Regions from separate parts of the Homo sapiens genome. Here region 2 is linked to region 1. The links are contacts of gene promoters, found by promoter capture Hi-C in human tissues and cell types (Jung and others, 2019). All regions are on one chromosome and are shown on one strand. Each heading gives the region's core, a stretch centred on a gene start or on the middle of the fragment in contact. The rest is flanking DNA. Distances are from core to core; before and after follow the strand shown. Region 1 holds the start of LMO2 (LIM domain only 2). Region 2 overlaps NAT10 (N-acetyltransferase 10).

What was found. The method cuts DNA at HindIII sites, captures the fragments that hold promoters and counts their contacts. A contact is called where the count stands out against the background at its distance.
Region 2: a fragment that was not itself captured here is called in contact with the fragment with the promoter of LMO2 in region 1 in 1 of the 25 tissues and cell types used here (neural progenitor cells).

Annotation. Positions count from the first base shown.
Region 1 is chr11:33,890,041-33,894,937 of GRCh38, reverse strand. It overlaps LMO2 (LIM domain only 2), which reads left to right and starts at 2,862. Exons shown (of 6, transcript NM_005574.4): 1 at 2,862-3,143. It overlaps LOC105376621 (a long non-coding RNA gene), which reads right to left and starts at 992. Exons shown (of 3, transcript XR_931176.3): 1 at 903-992. RefSeq lists enhancers at 750-919, 3,297-3,406. The HindIII fragment of the contact is 12,407 bases long and covers 1-4,897 here.
Region 2 is chr11:34,146,567-34,151,463 of GRCh38, reverse strand. NAT10 (N-acetyltransferase 10) reads right to left here. Exons shown (of 29, transcript NM_024662.3): 29 at 4,556-4,897. ABTB2 (ankyrin repeat and BTB domain containing 2) reads left to right here. Exons shown (of 17, transcript NM_145804.3): 17 at 1-477. Among named protein-coding and RNA genes, the nearest start is that of NAT10, 43 kb to the right of the region's middle. RefSeq lists an enhancer at 1,015-1,544. The HindIII fragment of the contact is 4,598 bases long and covers 21-4,618 here.

The DNA.
Region 1 (4,897 bases), core at 1,613-4,112:
CACAACTCCAAAGCAATAGTCAGCCCACAGTCAATGCCATCTCATCACCCAGCCCAAGGCTCGGCCTAAAACCTTCTAGAGGGTCTCACTCTAAAGATAACCCAAAGGTCTCACAGCTTCCTGGTTGCAAAAACGACAACAGGAGCAGGAATTGAGACCTAAAGATCATTTGGGTAGAAATGAGGAAAGAAATGACATGTTAAATGATGATTTTTCCCTAACTTGCCTTGTTCTTTCTAGATGTGGCTCAAGAACTTGCAGAGTTATGGTGGGATAATTCGACTGATCAAATGCTGAAAGTTTTCCTATCGACTTCAAGGCTGTTCAAATCTCTATGTACTTTGAAGTCTGAGGCACAAGATAATTTCCCAGAGATTCATGTTTCTATCGATGCTAGGCTGGGCTGACACAGATAACCCCTCAAGAGGCCTTTCCGAACTGCTGTATAAACTGTCCTGGGTCCAGCAATAAAGCAACTGTGTCATTATAGTTCTCTGCCCTTCAGAAGATCTGATCTTAATACCCTTCTCTTCTTTTTGTCCCTCTGATTTCATCAAATTTGTTGCCATTCTGGGTGTTTCTCCTTCTCTCCCCGACTTTTTCTACTTCAGATCAAAGAACTTCCCCTTTTTCCCACTTTTGGATTTGCGCCCTGGAGGACAACGCAAGGTTAACTTCCCTCCCACCTCCTCTTGTAGGCACACAGGGTGCCCCTTAGCCAGCGAAATCTCCGCGCCCGAGATCCTCTCACAATTTCAGGCTGGTGAATTGTAGTAGGAGACATGGTTTAGTTTGATGTGGTTAAGTCAGTCATCATGGCATCTTCGTACCCTCAGCCCCAAACCGCTCTCCTACTCATCACCCTCACTTTCATTTCTTTGGATTATCTTTCATCGGCTTACCACCAGCCTTCACAGCCTCACCCAAGGCTGAAGCAGGGCTAGCAGGGTGGTGCGTTTCCTTCCCTGGTTGAGCTGGTGACTGCTGTGGGTAAGCAGGTCCAATGTGAACTCAATTTTACATTGAGAAAGAGAAAGCAAGAGTGAGTGGGCTGCTAAGACTGTTGCTTCATGGTTTCCCCTAAGCCCCAGAAATAGAAAGGCAGACTTCCGACTGGCAGAGCCCGTATGCTAACCACCAGACCACACTGCCAGATAAGAAAAATGTTCGATTGTGTCATACTTCCCTCATTGGCTCCAGTGTCTGAAAATGGCCCTGAATTTCAGAGAGTCTTACCATGACCCAGGGATTTAGAGAGGATCGAAGAGGGAGGACAAAGGAATCAGGCACCTTCTCTCTCTCTTTTCTGGGGTAAATTTATTTTCAACCACAAAAGTAAAGGAAAGAAAAAGTCACAACAGATGAGTTATGAGCTAACTTTCTGATTTGCACATGTAAGAGAAAGAAATGAACTGGATATCATTAGACATTGAGAAAGGGAGTCTGCAAGCTAGCAATGTATCTTCGGCCTTTTTGATTTACACGTGTTTATTTATGAGTACCTACTGTGTGCCAGGCATGATGCTTGGTGCTGCCAATTCAAAGAGAAATAAGACACCTCCTTGCAAAGTGAGAAGGCAGAACTAGATTCAGATTCACCTAGATTTCAACTCTTGTGCTCAGGCCACCACCACCACCATGGAAACAATTTTGCTTGACTCTCCCGGCGCAGCCGCGGCAGGCGTGTGTGTTGTCAGACACTGCAGGAAGAGTGATGGCCTGGGTGTTGACAGGCTCCTAATTGGAAGGTAGGAGGTGCCACCAGAGATCAGCTATAAAAGATATCTTTGGACTGGGGTGGGCTGCTAATGCTTGGAAGAGACTTGTGGGTGAGGCCCGGTGAGCTGTCACCTCGGAATTGGGCCTTGCCCAGCAGACAGACATGCATGCGGGGGAGGTAGCTGACAGACAGGGGCGCATGGGGAAGCAGCCATTCCAGAGAACTGCAACAGCAGATTGCAAACCAGGACTTCAGGACTCAGAGGGGGACAAGGAAAGGAGAGCCTATAGTGGCCCCAAAGCCCAGGGTCAGAGGCAGGGCCAGGAGAGCAGCTGACAAGAGCTTTATGGTAAGGACAAAAGAGAAGACAGCCGGAGTCTCCTTTTATTCAGCTCATAAAGACCCAACTTCTGTGCACTTATAACTGTTCAGACCCTGAGGGGTTCAAAAAAAGAACCGTGTTAGGAGAATTCAATATTTAATTAAGAGATGATCAGATCCGTGCACCGAAATTATTGCTGGGTAAGACAATACTGTGTGTGTTACATAGCATTGGAACTTAGGAAAGCTCTTTCCTTGTGTTGTTTAATTTAATCCACTCAACAACCCTGCAAAGTGGGTACCATTGTCCCTGTTTTTTATGAATGAGGGGGTGAGGTGCTGAGAAGCTGTGTACGTTATTTGAGTTTGTCTGGCTAGTCAGTGGCTGAGCCAAGTTCCAATCCAGGTCATGTGAGCCTCTGAACTTTCTGATAAAACCTGCAGACCCCCTTAACTGGGATAATATAGTCATGCATTAAGCAAGAAGGAGAAGTAAATACAGGCTGATGGTGTAGGGGAGAAATTCAAAGGGAGAAGGCCTAGGAGGGAGAGGGAGCTATGTGTGAACAGAACCAAAGATGGCCTCTGGGAATTGGAAGGTCTCTTGGAATTCGTCCAAACTGAGGATCACAAGTCTCCACATTCTGAGTAGGAGGATGAGGGTCTGAGTTAGGATTTGGGTCCTGCAGGGCTTGCTAAGGAATCCCCTGATGGCCTAGGATTCCACGCAGAGCACATCTGGTGTGAGAGAGCTCGCTGCAAGGGTGAAGGCTCCGCCCTATCAGATAGACAACCAGGCCACCAAGAGGCCCAGCCCTCCAAACCCTGGATTTGCAACATCCTCAAAGAACAGCAACGGGCCTTGAGCAGAATTGAGAAGGAAATACCCCCACCTGCCCTCAGCCGTTAAGTGGGCTTTGCTATTCACAAGGGCCTCTGGGTGTCCTGGCAGAGAGGGGAGATGGCACAGGCACCAGGTGCTAGGGTGCCAGGGCCTCCCGAGAAGGAACAGGTGCAAAGCAGGCAATTAGCCCAGAAGGTATCCGTGGGGCAGGCAGCCTAGATCTGATGGGGGAAGCCACCAGGATTACATCATCTGCTGGTGAGTAGGCTTCATTAATTCTCTGATGAATGGACGATTGCAAGGGAACTTTTTTCATCTTCAAGGAGCCAGAAGAAGTGGTGATTAAATTGGTCTTTTAAAATAAAAAGACTCCAAAGGGGTACAAGTCTTCAAGCTTCCCCTGTGGTGTTCCGGGCACTCTGGCTTCTCTTTCGGAGGGAGGAAGAGCATCTATTCATAGGCTGTGACTTGGAGAGGCCCCACGGTGAGTCAGGCGCTTGCTGTGTGAGCCGCTGGTTGCTAATGTCTTCGGGAACTGCTAATTTACCCATCTAATTTGTTCCTGTACACTGGCCACAAAGGGAGACCACTCAATTATTCTGATCCAAAAGAGAGGCTTGTGTTTACCATGATCTCCCCAGCAACTGTGTGAGTGTGTGTGCATGTGTGTGTGTGTGTGTGTGTGTGTGTGTGTGTGTGTGTGTGTTTGCCTAACAACCTTAGGCAATGACGAAGAGGTGGGGCTGCTGCCCTTGTTAGCATTTTCAAACACATTCCAGTTCTGAGTTGAGGGCAAAGATTGTAATGGGGTGCTTCAGAGAAGCCTTGGCTCCCAAGGAGGTTATAACTTCAAAGGGTGTTTTTGAAAAACCAAGGCGGATGAGGAAAGTGGCTACAAGTTCCTTCCATCACAGAGGATCAATGAAGGGGAACAAAGATTTGGGAGCATCTACTTTGTGCCAGGTACTGTGCTTGGGTTTTACACGTCTTCTCTTGTTGACTTTGCATAACTCCCCTTTGAAGCAGATATTACTCCAGGTTCTTGCCGTAATGTTTCAGCTTAAAGAAAACCAACCCATACTTCTTTAGGTTGCCCTGAAAAGGTGAATCTTCTGTGAAGCCTTTTCTGTCTTTATCTGTTAAAATTAATTAAGCTCTTGTTTGTGCTCCCAGAAAATCACTTTAGACCTTAGAAAGATGGCAGCCTCAGTTTTCTCATTTGTAATATAGGGGTACCCATAGGGTCATTGTGAGAAATAATAGAAATAAATCATGGAAGTGCTTGGATAGTAGCTGGTACTTAGCCCTCATCAGTCATCATTGTCATTGTTGTTAAGAGTAATAATAATAATAATATCACTTATTATAATTACTCACCTCTAGGTTTTTAAAAAACTTACAGGCCGGGCACATTGGCTAACGCCTGTAATCTTAGCACTTTGGGAGGCCAAGGCAGGCAGATCGCCTGAGGTCAGCAGTTCAAGACCAGCTTGGGCAACATGGTGAAACCCTGTCTCTACTAAAAATATGAAAATTAGCCACGCGTGGTGGCTCATCCCTGTAATCCCAGCTACTCGGGAGGCTGAGAGAGGAGAATTGCTTGAACCCGGGAGGCGGAGGTTGCAGTGAGCCAAGATGGCACTATTGCACTCCAGCCTGGGTGACGAGAAACTCCATCTCATAAAAACAAAAACAAAAACAAAAAAACTTACATAAATTTATGGGGAACAAGTACAATTTTGTGACAAGCGTAAATTGCATAGTCTTGAAGTCAGGGCTTCTAAGGTATCTATCACCAGATTGATATCTATTGGTATCTATCACCAGATTGATATCTATTGATATCTATCACCAGATTGATATCACCACATTGTACCTATTAATTAATTTCTCATCATCCTCCCCCCACCCTTCTGAGTCTCCAGTGTATATTATTCCATACCCTAATGCCATGTGTTCACATTATTTAGCTCCCACTTATGAGTGAACAGTGTGATATTTGTCTTTCAGTG
Region 2 (4,897 bases), core at 1,070-3,569, 260 kb before region 1:
GGGCAAACAGGTCCCACTGGGGACTGTGACTCTTGGAGATTAAAGGACAGGGCATTGATGGAAGGTAAGGGCCAGGAGAAGAGGCCTTTCTGCTGTGTCCCCTCACGGCCTTGCCCTCGAATTCTGCAGGCCCTGGGCTCCCCTGACACCTGTCATATTTATGGACCAGACACTGGGGCAGCATCAGGCACAGTCTGTCTGGGTGCAACTTCTTCAGCTGTCTGGCCGCACCTTAAAAACTATTTATTCACCAAAAGCCCCAGGCATTTCAGAAGGTGGCACTCAGGTCACCCTGAAAAGCCCCCAGGGGCTTGCAATTCTGGAAAATATTTTGACTAGCTGCTTGGCTGGATGTACAAAGAAATAGGCATTATTTTATTGCTGTAATATTGTATGATACTTTAACTGTACAATAATGTTGTCACTTACTGTAAATGTACTATGGTTTTATTAACAATAAACACTCATTAACAATGACCTTGGCCTCACTGCTCCTGGTAGAGGGTTACTCAGAGTTCAGAACTGGGGAGGAGCCCCTTAGGACCAGGAAGAGATCCCAGAGCTAACGCTGTTACTCAGGTCTCCCCCCTCTCAGAGCCAAGACCCTACCAAAGCCATTGCTGTGGCCACCCAGCACTCGCCTCTCTCCAGAAACGAAGCCTGGATCCATTCCTCACCCGCCCACGCTCACATTTAATTAAGCACATGTGTGCCACTGAGCTGGACAGACACCAAATGACTGAGGAATATGACACTATCAGGCTTTCCTGATCTCCACTCCCATCCCCTCCACGGCCCTTTATGTGGGAGCTATTTTGGGGGTTGTCTTCAGAGGCACATCCCCAAATGGCACAGCCCACCAAAGTGGCAGCAGGGCCTCCTTCACCCAGGCCTGACCTGGCCTGATTGATTTGAGGGACCTATCCCTGGGTGACTGCTGCCCCCAGGCCCAGCTAAGCTAAGCTGGCTGTACCACCACAAGGCCACTAGCAGAGGTAATGGAGGGAGATGGTGAGGCGCCGACTCAGGTCCAAGAGTGTACTGGAGTTATGGCTGTAGTTTTAGGTGCAAAGTTCAGGCACAAATATAAGTTTTTAAAACATTCCCTGCCAGTTAGCTGGGCATAGTGGTGCACATCTGTATTCCCAGCTGCTCAGGAGGCTGAGGTGGGAGGATCACAGAGCCCAGGGGTTCGAGGCTGCAGTGAGCTATGATCACCCCTGCACCTCAGCCTGGACAACAAAGCAAGACTCTCTCTCAAAAAAAAAGTCGCCTGCCTGCCTGCCTGAAACAGGTATAGAAATTCCTAAGGTCACTGAGAACCTGAACCAAAGTGGCTGTGGGTCAGTGACCGGCCGTGACTCAGGCGTTAGGGGAACGACATAAAGATCCCAGTCCCTGGCAAAGCCCAATTCCAGCAGGAGCTGCGCAGGGCAGCTCGAGGCCCAGCCTGGGGACCTGTGGCCGCACAGACCCATGGTGCCCTCTGGGGGCCACTAGGAGGGGGCGCACTCCCCCACACCATCTTCCTGTGCAGTGGCCCAAGACGGTGGTGGAGCGGGCTGTCCGTCCCCAGCACTTGCCATTCAAAGTGGCTGCCCTTCATGGGTCTGTGTCCAGCGTCCCCACAAGTTCCCCCATCCCTGCAGGACATGCCTTGGTCCGTACCCAGCCTAGAAAGCAAGATCTAGTTGCATTCTGGCTCCAGATGAGGGATCCACCATTTCCTCTCTTGAGAGGGTGAGTGGGGGGTTGAGAGAAAGTGGAGGTAGGAAGGAGGGAGCGGGCCCCTTGGAGCCTGTGGGTAGCAGGAATACATTTTTGAATAAACATTTAAAATTAAAATAATTACCAAAAAAAAGCAGACATGCTTCCAAGGGGCTAGGACTCAAACAGAAATGATCACTTACCCAGGCAGCTGGACCTCCTAATTCCGGGCCACTGCTCACGGCCTGCCCTGCTCCGCCTGCTATGAGCAGCCACAGGCAGGCTTGGGGGAGTTACCCTCTTACTGGAGCCCTTGAGGACCCAGGTGCTGTGAGCATGGGTTGCATCTACAGGGATTTCACTCGGCTCCAGTGGGTCCACAGGCAAGCATAAGCTGGCGCCTTAGCCGTCTCCAAAGAAAACACCTCTCCAGAGGTGGCAGGTACCAGTCTGCTCCTGCACCGACAGGGCTAACACTGAGATTGTCCTTTTTGAGGCTGTCTGGTTTCTTTCCTGCATTCAAATCTTCTCCTGAAGCTTTCCTTTAGGCTCTCGGCCTGGAAGGCCAGTTATCCTTTTCCACATTAGTCCCCGTGCCAGATACCAGGTGGCTAGAGCTTTCTCAACGGAACCAGCCCAAGCAGGAAGCCCCGGCCTCTCCCTTTCAGGCTGCCTTTCAAGTCCGCTTTGCAGGATCCAGATGATGTTTAACTGGAACCAATTGTTTGTAGAATCAAGGGCATGCCCCCTCAGGGGCAATCCCCTGAAATTGTCTATTCCAGCCCAAGGGGCTTCCGACCCCACCCCCTCCTCCAGGCCTGCAGAATGGCTGCGGGTGTTGTAACAGGCCTCAGATAATGAGTCTACATTTTTCCAAGGTGACGGTCACTTATTTCTGCCCCTCCCCCACCTCCCAGCCTCAGCGGCCCCCTTTGTGTCCCGTCTCCTGGTCATCCGGAGTCCTCCGGGACTTCCGGGCCAGATGAGCAGTGGAAGCACTGAAGCAGGCCGGCATTAGCCCCGCCTGGCGAGGGGGTATGGGGGGTGACCATTTAGTAACCTTCTTTGTTCAGGCTTCTTCAGGCTCTTCCCCTTCTGGTGACAGCACTCATGGCTGGCCTATCTGAATTCATTTCGCAAGTGACATTTCCTAAGACAGCCAAGCTTTACAGATGTCACTCTGTCTGGGGGCCAGATGGTGAGGTGTGGGGGAGACATGCCTTTTCAGGTTTGAAGGAGAACCCAAGATCATGACCATAAAATGCAAAGACCCAAGCGTGTGTTTAGGAACACACACTTTGCAAATAAAGAGGCCTTGTCCAAGGATACAGAGATATTATACAGAGCCAGACAAGTCTGACTGCAAAATGCATGCTCTTCGCTGGCCAAGGGAGACTCCTTTTCTAGCTTAGGTTGTGGTTTTATAACATGGCCAGTCCTGGCCAAGTGTGGTGGCTCATGCCTCTAATCCCTATACTCTGGGAGGCCCAGGCGGATCACTTGAGGCCAGAGTTCCAGACCAACCTGGGCAACATATTGAGACTCCATCTGTACATAATTTTTAAAATTAGGCAGGTGTGGTGGTGAGCACCTTCCCAGCTGCTTGGAAGGCTGAGGTGGGAGAATGGCTTCAGCCCAAGAGTTCAAAGCTGCAATGAGCTATGATTGAGCCACCGCACTCCAGCTTGGGCAACAGAGCAAGACCCTGTCTGTTTTCAAAAGAACACCACAGCTAGTCCTTATTGAGTATTCTTAGAGCTGGCATGTAACTGAACTTGAGCGGCTCCTCTAGTTAGATCTGATGAGTGCCCAGAACCCAGAGGCACTTGCTATGTGCCAGGCACTGTTCTAAACGTTTCCCATTCTACCCCACCCACTTCTCACCACAGTCCCGTGACGGAGGTGCTATTCCTACCACTCAAATTTTGCAGAAATGGACCTGAAGGGCAGGTAGGATGAAGTAACCTGCCCAAGGCCACGGTGAGCGTCAGGGCAGAGCAGTCTACCTCCAGAGCCCTCACCTTGCACCCCAAAGCAGAGCCAGCCGGGGAGACTTTGAGGGTAGAGACACTAAACAAAAGCTTCCTTACCTGTAGGATGATATGCCTGGACAACTTGCACAGTCCCATCCAGCTCTGACCATTTGAGCATGTGACTCTGCTTCTGGCCACGGTCTAAGAAAACCCTCTTTGAAAGGCAGGTTCAGGCACCCACCTGAGAAAATAAATAAAAATTATTTTCATGCCCCCTCCCTGCCTCCAGCAAAATTTCCTACAGACCTAACAGAGGTCTGTGGCCAGGAAACTTCAGTCCCAAGAAACGAAAGACCCCTAGGCTCATGTCCTGACAGCCTCGGTGACAAGCCTCAGCAGCCCTAGGGTCGCATACAGAACCTGCTCTTCTCCCTGTGGGGACGAGTCCTAGGAGCTGTATATGAAATACCCTTAGGCTGAGAAGTTACCGTTTCCTTCCCTGTCCTTCTCTGAACCTAGACAACATATCGGGGCTGCAGACTCATTAGCCTGGATACCATTAAACAAACATACCAAAGTATGTGTAAAGCCACCAGGTTACCTCTGTTCCCAACAAATGGAAGGGACCAAGTGACCTGGAAGGAGCTGGGAAGGAAATGAGGCAGTTCTAGCTGGCTTCCAGCCACCACACCAAGCCCCTCGAGGTGACCATAGCCACCTGCCACTTCTCCCGCAGACTCCTGGGCTGGGAAGCCCTAGACACACTGCTCACCTTTGACCTTGATACCAACACCTTCCAAATTCCACCAGGCAGCCAAGACCCACCAGAAGAAACGTCCAGGTGCGTGGATTTCAGAACACTCACAGGCAGCTGATCTTTCTAGAATGTTATTTATTAAAAATAGATTCTCTATCCTTCCCCTCACCCCTGCGAGCAAAGTGGCCTTTCCCAACATCTTTTCCCAAATGGATGAAACAGGTCTTGAGGACGCAGATGTGGCATTCTACATAAACTACAGGATCAGGCTTTTCTGGGACAGTGGGTCTGCTGGAGCCAAGAGTGGAACAGCACAAGACAACATCAGCAAACCCTGGCGCACCTAACCGCGGGCTGCCATGGATGCCGGGACGGACTGGAGTTCCTCCTGCTCCAGGTACAAGTCCACAAAGAGAGACCCAGCGGCCCAGCAGCAGCCTCCTGGGCACCACCAGAAAGC